Linked DNA regions of Homo sapiens: all the other regions are linked to region 2. Evidence: promoter capture Hi-C in human tissues and cell types (Jung and others, 2019). All regions are on one chromosome and are shown on one strand. Each heading gives the region's core, a stretch centred on a gene start or on the middle of the fragment in contact. The rest is flanking DNA. Distances are from core to core; before and after follow the strand shown.

Region 1 (3,774 bases), core at 349-2,848, 77 kb after region 2:
TTTTTAGTAGAGATGGGGTTTCACTGTGTTAGCCAGGATGGTCTCGATCTCCTGACCTCGTGATCCACCCGCCTCGGCCTCCCAAAGTGCTGGGATTACAGGCTTGAGCCACCGCGCCTGGCCAAACTGGGCAAAAGATTTGAAGAGACACTTCACCAAATACAATGTTAAGATGGTAAACACATAAAAGATGCTCAACATACAGTTGCGAAAATTAAAAAGAATACAGCTTTTTGTTTGTTTGTTTTTAGACAGGATCTCGCTCCATCACCCAGGCTGGAGGGCAGTGGTGTGAACACGACTCACTGCAGCCTCAACCTCCTGGGCTCAAGCCATCCTCCCCACTTAGCCTGGCTTGAGTAGTAGCTGGGACCACAGGCATACATCACTACACCCAGCTAATTTTTAAATTCTTTTGTAGAAACAAGGTCCCACTATGTTGCCCAGGCTGGTCTTAAACTCCTGGGCTCAAGCAGTCCTCCCACCTCAGCCTCCCAAAGTGCTGGGATTATAGGTGTGAAGCACTGCGCCCAGCCAAAAAGACTGTATCAAGTGTTGCTGAGGATGTGGAACAACCAGAATTCTCAAACACTGTTGGTAGCAACGTAAAATAGTACAACCACTCTGCAAACCAGTTTGGGATTTTCTTTTTTTTTTTCTTTTTATTTTAAGTTTTAGGGTACATGTGCACAATGTGCAAGTTTGTTACATATGTATACATGTGTCATGTTGGTGTGCTGCACCCATTAACTCGTCATTTAACATTAGGTATATCTTCTAATGCTATCTCTCCCCGCTCCCCGCAGGGATTTTCTTAAAAAGCTGAATATACACCAGCTATGTGATCTAGCCATCGCGCTCCTAGGATTTACCCAAGAGAAATGAAAGCTTATGTCCATTCAAAGATTTGTACATGAATATTCAGAGCAAATCTGAATAAGAGGATATTATTTGCCACAGCCCTAAACTGGAAACAATCTAAATGTTCATCAACTGGTGAGTGGATAAACAGATTGTGGTATATTCAGACAATGGAATACTATTCAGCAATAAAAATTAATGAGCCTTTTTTTTTTTTTTTTTGAGACGGAGTCTCGTTCTGTCACCCAGGCTGGAGTGCAATGGTGTGATCTCGGCTCACTGCAACCTCCGCCTCCCAGTTTCAAGCGATTCTCCTGCCTCAGCCTCCTTAGTAGCTGGGATTATAGGCATGCACCACCACACCCAGCTAATTTTTTTGTATTTTTAGTAGAGACAGGATGTCACCATGTTGGTCAGGCTGGTCTCGAACTCCTGACCTCAAGTGATCCGCCCATGTTGGCCTCCCAAAGTGCTGGGATTACAGGGGTGAGCTGTTGCGCCCAGCCGTGAGCTATTTATACATGCAACGACATGGGTGAATCTCAAAATAATTATGTTGAGTGAAAGAAGTCAGATGGAAAAAAAGCACATACTGTATGATTCCACTTCTACAGAATTCTAGGAAATATGAACAGTTAACCAATAGTGACAGAAAGCAGATGAGTAGTTGCCTAAGGATGGAGAGAGCCAGACAGTGAGGGAAGGAGAGGTTCCCAAGGGGCCTTTGGAGCCAATGAATATGTTAATTGTCTTGATTCTGGTGATGGTTTCACAGTGTATACATACGTCAAAATTTATGAAATTGCACACTTCAAATAGGTACAGTTTATTATATGCCAATTATACCCCAAAAGCTGTTAAGAAAAATCACTGTACAAAAATTGAATTGGTAGTAACAGGAAAGACAGTCCAAATATGTTAGGATCGAAATATACTTAAAAAGCACCTTCCAAGATAGCAAATATAATTTTATAAATACGCACAAAAATGTAGTAGAATATTTTATTATTAAAAATGCACACAGGGCTGGGCGCAGTGGCTCACGCGTGTAATCCCAGCACTTTGGGAGGCCAAGGCAGGTGGATCACCTGAGGTCGGGAGTTTGAGACCAGCCTTGCCAACATGGTGAAACCCTGTCTCTACTAAAAATACAAAAATTAGCCAGGCATGGTGGTTCATGCCTGTAATCCCAGCTACTTGGGAGGCTGAGGCAGGAGAATTGCTTGAACCCGGAAGGTGGAGGTTGCAGTGAGCCGAGATCACGCCACTGCACTCCAGCCTGGGCGACAGAGGGTCTCTGTCTCCAAAAAAAAAAAAAAAAAAATGCTCACAGACCCTTCGTCCTGGCAGTCTAACGTTTAGGGAGCCGTCTTACAGGGGGAGAAAGAAACAGAGTGTGGAAGATGAGACTACCATATAAGGATGTGCAGGTTGTTCACTGCACAAGGAAGGACACCACACCGATGGGGCATGTAGGGCTGGAATCCGGCCTACACGCCACTTGCCAAGCTGCGTACTTTGTTACAGGCTGGTGTCTATGGGAGGGGTATTTTTTGCTAATTTGCACAAAGATACTAAACGGGTGATATGGTTTGGCTGTGTCCCCACCCAAATCTCATATTGAGTTGTAGCTCTCATAATCCCCATGTGTCATTGGAGGGAGCCGGTGGGGGGTAATTTAATCACGGGGGCAGTTGCCTTCATGCTCTTCCTGTGATAGTGAGTGAGTTCTCATGAGATCTGATGATTTTATAAGGGGCTTTTCCCCGTTTTGTTTGGCACGTCTCCTTGCTGCTGCCATGTGAAGAAGGACATGATTGCTCCCCTTTCTGCCATGATTGTAAGTTTCCTGAGGCCTCCCAGCCATGCTGAACTGTGAGTCAATCAAACCTCTTCCCCTTATAAATTACCCAGTCTCAGGTATGTCTTTATTAGCAGCATGAGAATAGACTAGTACAATGGGCTACACAGCCCAGTCTTTAAAGACATATATCTCAGGATGATTAGTCCGACATTGTCTGCAATAATCACTGCAACAAATCAGAAATGACCTGAATGCTATCAGTGGAAGAAGGGGTGAATCAAGTCACCCAGCCACGTAATGAAAAAGTATGAAATGATTAACAAGAATGAGGTAGCATCACAAGAGTCGACCTAGAGAGAGGTCCAGGGAGAATGTTAAATGAAAGAAGCATATTGTGAGGTGCTGTGCATTGAGTGGACCCAAGGTTCACTCACACTCCTTGGAAGTCACCCAATAATCCCCTTGATTCTCTGCCTGTGTTTTCCTTTTCCCTCATGTTTCTCCAAACGTCTTCCTTGTTGATGGTTGGAGGTCATTAAACCAGCCTTGGATGACTGTATTAAGGCCTTCAATTAACAGAAGACATAAATCTTATACATAGAGACTATTCTGTATATATAAAATAAGATTGTGGGGCAGTCCCAGTGGCTCACACCTGTAATCCCAAAACTTTGGGAGGCCAAGATGGGAGGATTGCTTGAGCCCAGGAGTTTGAGACCAGCCTGGGCAACAAAGTGAGACCCCGTCTCTACAAAAAATTTTAAAATTAGCCAGATGTGGTGGTGCCTACCTGTTGTCCCAGCTACTTGGGAGGCTGAGGCAAGAGGATTGCTTGAGCCCAGGAGTTTGAGACTGCAGTGAGCTGTGATTGAGCCACTGTACTTGGCCTGAGCCACAGAGCAAGACCCTGTCTCAAAAAAAAAAAAACAATTTTTTATGGCAAAAGGAACATATTTGTATAAATATATATGATTTACATGTACATATGTTTGGAGAGACTTAGAGAAGGTATATGGCAGTGTGTTGGAAGATTTACCAAAGTGTATTGCTTATACTTCTGTATTTTATTATGGGAGACTATTAACTTTTTCTTCACACACTTCAGCATC
Region 2 (3,702 bases), core at 176-2,675:
ATTGTCAATACATTGTCAACCCCGGGAAATTCATTCAAAAGAAATGTGCCTGTTAACCCAAGTGATTGTGCTGTGAACATGAAGAGCTGAAGGGCTAGCTAGAACATAGAATCCGGTCTGCAGTCAGGACCTAGCACTGCTGTCTGCCCACAGATCTTCAAGTTCTTAAAAGTCTGTTGAGGAGCAGTTAGAAAAAAGATGGTACAATCCTTGCCTCTGCCCACTCACCTCTGAGGGTGGCAGGAAAAGGAGAGCCTGTGTTTAAAGGATTCTGGCTTCTCCTGCCAGCTCCCTGAACCCAATCTAAAGCAGCCCAGATCCCAGCCTCACCCTACCTTCTCTAAGGTCTGGACCCCAAGAAGGACATCATGGTGAAGATCAGCATCAGTCAGTCAGGATCTTAAATCTCAGATGTGGGCAGGAAGGCACATGCATCCTCCCAGCCAAAAGAGGTGACCTACCAAAAATCACTTCTCATCTTCCCCAGCCTTAGAACTGCCTCTGAATGAGAGGAACCACATTTTACTGAACGCATCTTCAGACCATAGCTTTATGCTAAGCATTTTACAGCATTTATCACACTTAACTCTTTCCAGAATTCTACAAAGCATTCTTGTACCCATTTTCCAGATGAGGAAAATGAAGCCCAGAAAAATTGAATGTCTTGTCTGAGATCACCCAGGGACAGAGCCTGGATTTGAACTTAGGTCAAGCCCACTACAAAGAGTACACATGCTTAACCACCACACTGTAACCTTCCCACTTGGGACTGTTCCAACCCAGCAAACAAGTCCCTTTAGAGAAACCCAACTCTCTGCCTAAGACAGCTCTTAGAACTACCTTAAAGAAGTTCCTTTTGGCAAGAAGATAGAAAGCCTCGATGGGATTGGGGTCGTCTGATTTCCAAGGCCCCTTCAGAGGATCAAAAAGTGGTGCCAGAAACCTTCACAGTTTCAGTCTTGTGTTTCCCTGCCTGGCTCGAAACTGCTCAGCAAAGAGAATGAGAAAAACTATTTTCCCAGGGAAACACTCACCTCTAGCTTGAGACTGGGGCTTGCCTTGACACGCCAAAGTAAGATCGTCAGCCCATTCATTTACCCTTACAAATTGCTCTGTGAATCCCGGTGCCGGCCTCCCCGCTCTTCCCCCTCCAGGAAACCCCATCCAGCCTCCACGCTCTGAGAGCGGCAGGTATCCACCGATGTTTACTCACTCAAGTTCATTCGACATCTTCCTGCTCCCAAGCTCCGACGATCAGCACTGAGGCTCTGCTGACCGCTTGTCTCTAATTCTTGCCTGACACAGACATTCTCTGCCCGGGAAAGTGTTTGATTTATGTTGAGGTTTGGGTGTCGAGATTTTGCTGACAGGTAGGTTCCCAGCAGCGCTGGCGCTGATTGGCTACAGGTACAGGTGCCGGCGACTGGAGGTATACCTCAACAGGTGCAGCTGTTAACTCTTAGCCCGCCGAGGAGGGCGGAGCTATGGGGGACTGGCTGGGTGGAGCTGGCCAATTCCTTCCTTGGTGAGGGGGTGGGGGGTGGAGATGAGGGAGGAGGGATGGAGAAGAAAATGTTGGAAAGAAGCAAGATAACTAGAGGAAAAGTACAGGGACAAACAGATAACTTGGCTTAAAGGAAAACTTGATTCCTGTTTCTAGTCATTGTCCCAGATACCCAGAAACATCCCCACCCCCAAATTTCTTTGCCCCCTCCTTCTGTACCACTGGGGAATTCTCAAAGGAGAGAGCAACTTTTCCCAGGTAGATCTTTGTATAAGTTCCCTTTTTTTCAGTTTCCCCTTTAAGGTAATATTTTTGAATAATCTTTTGCAGTTACTCAAGTGACTTCTTTTGGTTCTTAAAGTAACCTACCGTGGTAGATTTATTATCGCTTCCCCCTTCCTCTTCAACACATATTTTACAGATGAGGGAGGAAATGGAGGCCAGAGAGGCAAAGTGCCTTGCCCAAGGGCACAGCTAGCGAGGTCCCAGCCCAGATCCAATCTGCAGTCATCTCACTCCAAGTCTGGCTGCCCCTTGGGCTGAAGTCAGTGGCCTCAATTCAGTAGACATTCATTGAGCACCCGTTGTGTGCCAGACCCTACTCTGGGTTCTGGAGAAACTGAGGCCAGAAAAAACAGGGGTTACTGTTCTAAAGGAGTTTACAATCTGGGGGGTGTGTGTTGGTGGCAGGGGGTGGGGGAGTAAAGGAGAACAGGCTTTTATTGGGTGTGAAGGGGGTGTGGGCAAGCCACATACCTCTGGTCAGCACAGAAGGGATAGAAAAGTTGAAGGCTCCTCTGAAGCCTCAGCCAGCTGGTCATTTCACAGGCTCCAAGTGCTTCGTTCTGTATTGGGAACTTGGGAGAAATTCAATGCCTGTCAGATGAAGTAATTGTGGAGTAATTGCTGTGAGCTGTCTACTATAAAGAACAAGCTTGGTAAACCCCAGAATATCCACAAACACAAACAGGAGAATGTAAGAGCTTTTTAAAGAGCTTCTTCCAGGATTAGTTTGAAATTAAATCTAAGCCAGAGATCTTGGCATCTTTTTTTCCCTCTCTCTCTTTCTATTCTCCCCTCCCCCACCCTTCCCCTTTTGGCAAATTATCTCTTTGCTGTGTCTTCCTGGAAACCTCAACTTGGCCCACTCCTCTCTCTCTTCTCTGGGAACGGCAAGTGAGGTTTCAGCTACCCCTGCCAATTTATGGAGGTTTTTCAGGGTAAAGTCAGAATTCAAAGGAGCCCTCTTGGGGTGGGGTCAGGGCTCTGGAGAGGGGGTACTGGGTTTGAGAACTCTCAGAGATTGGTTTCTCCCTGGAGGCTGTGTTGGGGGAAGCCCAGGGGACCCTAATAAATAATAGTAAATAATTGCTAATAAAGCCACCTCCTCAGAGCAGCCCTCTTCAGTCACCCTTGTTAATAAAGTAGACATTCAATCACTCTGGATCACACTACTTTTTGTTCTCTGCAGAGCCCTTATGACTTATGATACAATGTAATATGACCTATGATATTTTTCTAATCGTTTATTGTCTTTCTCCCCTTCCTCTGGAATGTAAATTCCATAAGAGCAAAGACTTTGTGTCGCTCACTGTGGAATCTCCAGTGTCTGGCACCTAGTAGGTGCTTCATATACCACAGGCACCGGGCATTGTGCGCCTTTGCATACATTGTGTCGCCTAATCCTTACAGCAACCCTGGGAGATAGACATTTTTGATACCCCCATTTTATAGATGAGGAAACTGAGGTACAGAATACTGAAGTAAACTACTCAAGCTGCAGAGCTAGGCAGTGGTAGAGCTAGAGCTGGGATTTAATCCGAGAGCAGAGCCTGGGTGCCCAACCACTTCACAGAGCTTATTGGTGGCTGAAGGGCTATTTGGTGCCAACTGTAACTGCAAAGCTTATTGCAGTCCAAAGGATGGCACACTCCTCTGTATGTACCTGTCTGCCCACCTCATGGAAGGCTGTGGAGTTTCTGTCAACCGTGTTGCAACCCACAGGTGAAGGGCTGTGGGGTGACTCATGCTGACTGGGCTCAGGGGAGGCTGGGATTCCAGGTGGCGTGTCTGTGCTCGCTGGGGTTTTAAAAATGGGTCCTCTCCCTCTGCCTCTAGGTTTTGCCTCTTTCATCACCCGCACCCATCTTCAGAGATCAGCAGAGACCCAAATCACAGGGCAGAGGGTTTCTACGTCT
Region 3 (3,710 bases), core at 319-2,818, 95 kb after region 2:
TCCTTATAGATAATGGTGAAATTGTTTCGAGTGCTTCCCCGATCCCTCTAGGTCAAGATCTGAACCAGCTGCTCACCCTGGGGAGGGTGGCTTCTGTAGGAATCTTCTGGCCAAAGCCCTCCGCCTCCACAGTTGTTAACAGAGTGGGGACAGCTCCAAGTCCTGTCCTTCGAGATTCCGCCTCTTTTGGGGGCTTCTCACTGATCCCTGCTGTCTTGGGGAGGGGCGCACAGAGCTCCCTTTGGTGGTCTGCTTAAAGCACAGCCTCGGAGCTCTTGCCTTCATTCCCCATAGTGCAGCTGAGCTCCTTTAAACAAGAGGTTGGCCAGGAACGGGGGCTCACACCAGTAATCCCAACCCTTTGGGAGGCTAATGTGGGAGGATCGCTTGAGCCCAGGAGTTTAAGACCAGCCTGGGCAACATAGCGAGACTCTGTCTCTACAAAAAATACAAAAAATATAGCCGGTGTGGTGGCGCGCATCTGTAGTCTTGGCTACTGGGAGGCTGAGGTGAGAGGCTCGCTCGAGCCCAGGAGATCGAGGTTGCAGTGAGCTATAATCACACCACTGTACTCCAGCCTGACTGACAGAGTTGTCTCAAAAAAATAAAAATTTTTATTATAATAAACAAGAAGTCACTAAGTCCCTGGGTGGGGGAAGGGAGATAGGAGGGAAATAAACACAGACGGCAGCACAAGACAAAGTTACCTGTGTCACCTGCCACACCCCTCAGCCTTGGTTCAGCAGCCTCAGGTTCAGCAGCCTCAGCAAGCACTCAGCTCCCTGTCTACCTCCGTGTGCAGGAGGCCACTCTCCATCCCTCAGAACATCCCCCACCAGAACACCCAAGCTCCGCCAGGCCCAGATCACAGTGAGTGAGGCCCAGAAGGATGCAGAGGCCCCTTCCTCTGCCAAAGCCCTGCCTTCCTGACTCAGGACCTGCCAGAGGATCAACTCCCTCTAGCCCCAAGGCGGGGATGGAAACAGCCTGCCATACTCCTCCTCTCGTACCCAGGCCAGATGGCCCTGCTCATCACTGAGCCCACTTACAGCCTGGGAATCCTCAACACAGGCCCCGCTGAATTCACTGGGGTCCTTGGGTTCCATTAACCCTAACTGTCCTCCTTGACTTACGGCCTCAGTAGGACAACCAGCTCAGATGGTAGTCCCATAAACCCAGATAGGAGAGGTATTATTTTTTCCCAAAATTCACCCTTTAAAGACACCAGTTGCCTAACAAAAATGGGATACCAAGGCCCCAGATATGGCCCTTCATTGCTGCTTCCACATTGTGAGAAGGAAACCTCTATGGAAATGCAGGAGAGGAGAGAGTCAGGGAGACCAAGGATATAGTTCAGGGGAATTTGTCCCCAAGTGTAAAGGTCATCCCCAATGAGCCTACGTCAGCCACTGATGGCTTCAGAACAGCCACTTATGACTTCTGTTCTGGGAGATGATCCCATTGGAGCCTCCCGGCAATCTCTGTGGAGTAACTTATGCACAACCTCCAGGGCTTCAGAGCTTGTGCTCTGTCTGGCACCTGTGGACCTGGGTATAAATCCCAGCTCAGCCACTTGCAAGCTGTGTGACCTTGGACAACTCTCACCCTCTCTGAGCCTCAGTTCCCACATTTATAACATTTTCTCAGCTGGGGCCAATTCTGTGCCAGGGGCATCTGGCAATTTTGGTTGTCATGACTGGAAGGTGGAGAATCCTACTGGCATCTGGTGGGCAGAGGTCAGGGATGCTGCTGAATTTCCTACAACACAAGGGACAGCCCCTCAAACAAGTCAACAGTGCCAAGGATTAGAAGCCATGCTCTGTATTAAGAGGATAACAGTACCCATCTCATAGGTTGATTGTAAGATTAAGTGAGAACATGTACCTAAAACATCTGGAATATATGAAGCCCTCAATAAATGAGAAATATTGCCATAGTAGAAACCCCACCAGAACATTAAAAGTGGGGCCCACAAATTCCAATTGTTTCAAATGCAATCTTGCATTAGCTTATGTACAGCCACCTGCGTAGCTAGCTGGTCTTGACTTCTAGGGACCTGGAGCCAAATTGCCAATAGCAGTTTACCAGATTTACATTATCGTGGGGTTTTCTTGAATTTTTGTTATTCCTATTTTATGGCTATGAAGCCCAACTTCCTGGTGGAATTGGTTTGTTTTTTTGTTTGTTTGTTTTGTCTTTTTGGTTGTTTTTGTTGTTGTTTTGAGACAATGTCATGCTCTGTCGCCCAGACTGGAGTACAGTGGTGCAATCATGGCTCACTGCATCCTTGACCTCCTGAGCTCAAACCATCCTCTCACCTCAGCCTCCCGAGTAGCTGCGACTACAGGCGATGCTACCACACCTGGCTAATTTTTGTATATTTTGTGGAGACAGGGTTTTGCCATGTTGCTCAGGCTGGTCTCGAACTCCTGAGCTCGAGCAGTCCTCCCACCTCAGCCTCTCAAAGTGCTGGGATTTCAGGCGTGAGCAACCGTGCCCAACCTGGAATTGTTTCTGTACAAGTACTTCTCCATCTCCCAGGATTTCTTCCTCTCCAACTTGCTTCTTCTAGTCTAAGGTGGGCTTGAAAACCTTAATGAAAGTTGTTTGTAAGCCAAGAGTAACTAGGTTACAAATGAGAGTCAGAGGGTATTTCTAGGAAAGAAGTCATAGGTATTGGCACATGAACTTTATACTTTCGTGTGTTCAGAGGTCTTTTCTGCTTGCTTCCTGGTTCACAGATGAGGCTTCCTGATACTGGGTCTGAAGACTTGAGGTATTATCACCACCTGAATAAATTCTATCTACTTTGGAATGCAGTGTATGATTTTTGTGTGTGTGTGCCTGAAAACTTCCTTAAGTTGGACTTAGAAGAATTTTTTTCAGCAAATATGTATTAGGTGACTACTCTGTTCCAGGCATAGTGAGTGCAGAGAGCCAGCCAAACCAGCATGGGATTCAGACCCGCGTATACAGCTCAGCGCGGTCAACAGTTATTCTTGTTCATTCATTCATTCACTCATTCATTCATTCATAAGAAAAGTTTAGTAAGCACCAATGTGCGCTAAGCACTGTTCAAAGCACTTCACTTAATTAAATCCTCTATCTTAAAAATTACCAAGCAAGGTAGGTCTAATTATCCCCACCTGAATTAGATGAAAAGACTGAGGGTAGGAACGGCGAAATCGCTTATTCAAGATCACACCTCCAGGAAGGGGTAGAGCTGGGCCTCAGCTGTCAACCCTGCTCCTCCCTCTTCCCACTCCCTGCCACCCCCACCCCCACCACAAGGCTTCCGACTCCCCTAAGAAAGGTTTTCTTAATTGCTCTCTAAGAACCTTGCACAGAGCACTTAGCTTTGCCTGGCTCTGAGAGCTGTGAAACGGGTATTTCATTAAGCTCTTTATAAACTTGCCTGGTTCCACCCTTGAGAGATACCTAAGTGCCAGCCTCCCATGACAGAGGGGAAACCCAGCAGTTTGGGGCCACTGGTGACGCTGGCCTGGTGCCAGCTGTCCCAGTCCCTGAGTAGAGCCAGACCTAGTCACAAGGACTGAGGGCTGGTGAAGACGGAAGGCATGGGGAGGGGTCCATGATCAATCAGGACAGAGGGGGTCTGTGAACCTGCGGTGGACAACAGTTTTGCCTCTGGGGAACACCTGTGTTCTTACCCAGTTTCGTGGGAAAAGTGTGGACTTTGGGGCCACAGA

What was found. Contacts are between HindIII fragments. The study calls those that stand out against the background at their distance.
Region 1: a contact is called between a fragment that was not itself captured here and the fragment with the promoter of GRHL3 in region 2, in 2 of the 25 tissues and cell types used here (mesenchymal stem cells and spleen).
Region 3: a contact is called between a fragment that was not itself captured here and the fragment with the promoter of GRHL3 in region 2, in 2 of the 25 tissues and cell types used here (liver and mesenchymal stem cells).

The regions. Positions count from the first base shown.
Region 1 is chr1:24,240,043-24,243,816 of GRCh38, reverse strand. No RefSeq gene overlaps it. Among named protein-coding and RNA genes, the nearest start is that of LINC02800, 42 kb to the right of the region's middle. The HindIII fragment of the contact is 8,376 bases long and covers 1-3,774 here.
Region 2 is chr1:24,317,080-24,320,781 of GRCh38, reverse strand. It overlaps GRHL3 (grainyhead like transcription factor 3), which reads right to left and starts at 1,425. Exons shown (of 16, transcript NM_198173.3): 1 at 1,214-1,425. The coding sequence starts at 1,230. All of the region lies in intron 1 of GRHL3-AS1 (GRHL3 antisense RNA 1), which reads left to right. The HindIII fragment of the contact is 14,571 bases long and covers 1-2,923 here.
Region 3 is chr1:24,221,983-24,225,692 of GRCh38, reverse strand. No RefSeq gene overlaps it. Among named protein-coding and RNA genes, the nearest start is that of LINC02800, 24 kb to the right of the region's middle. The HindIII fragment of the contact is 5,414 bases long and covers 1-3,710 here.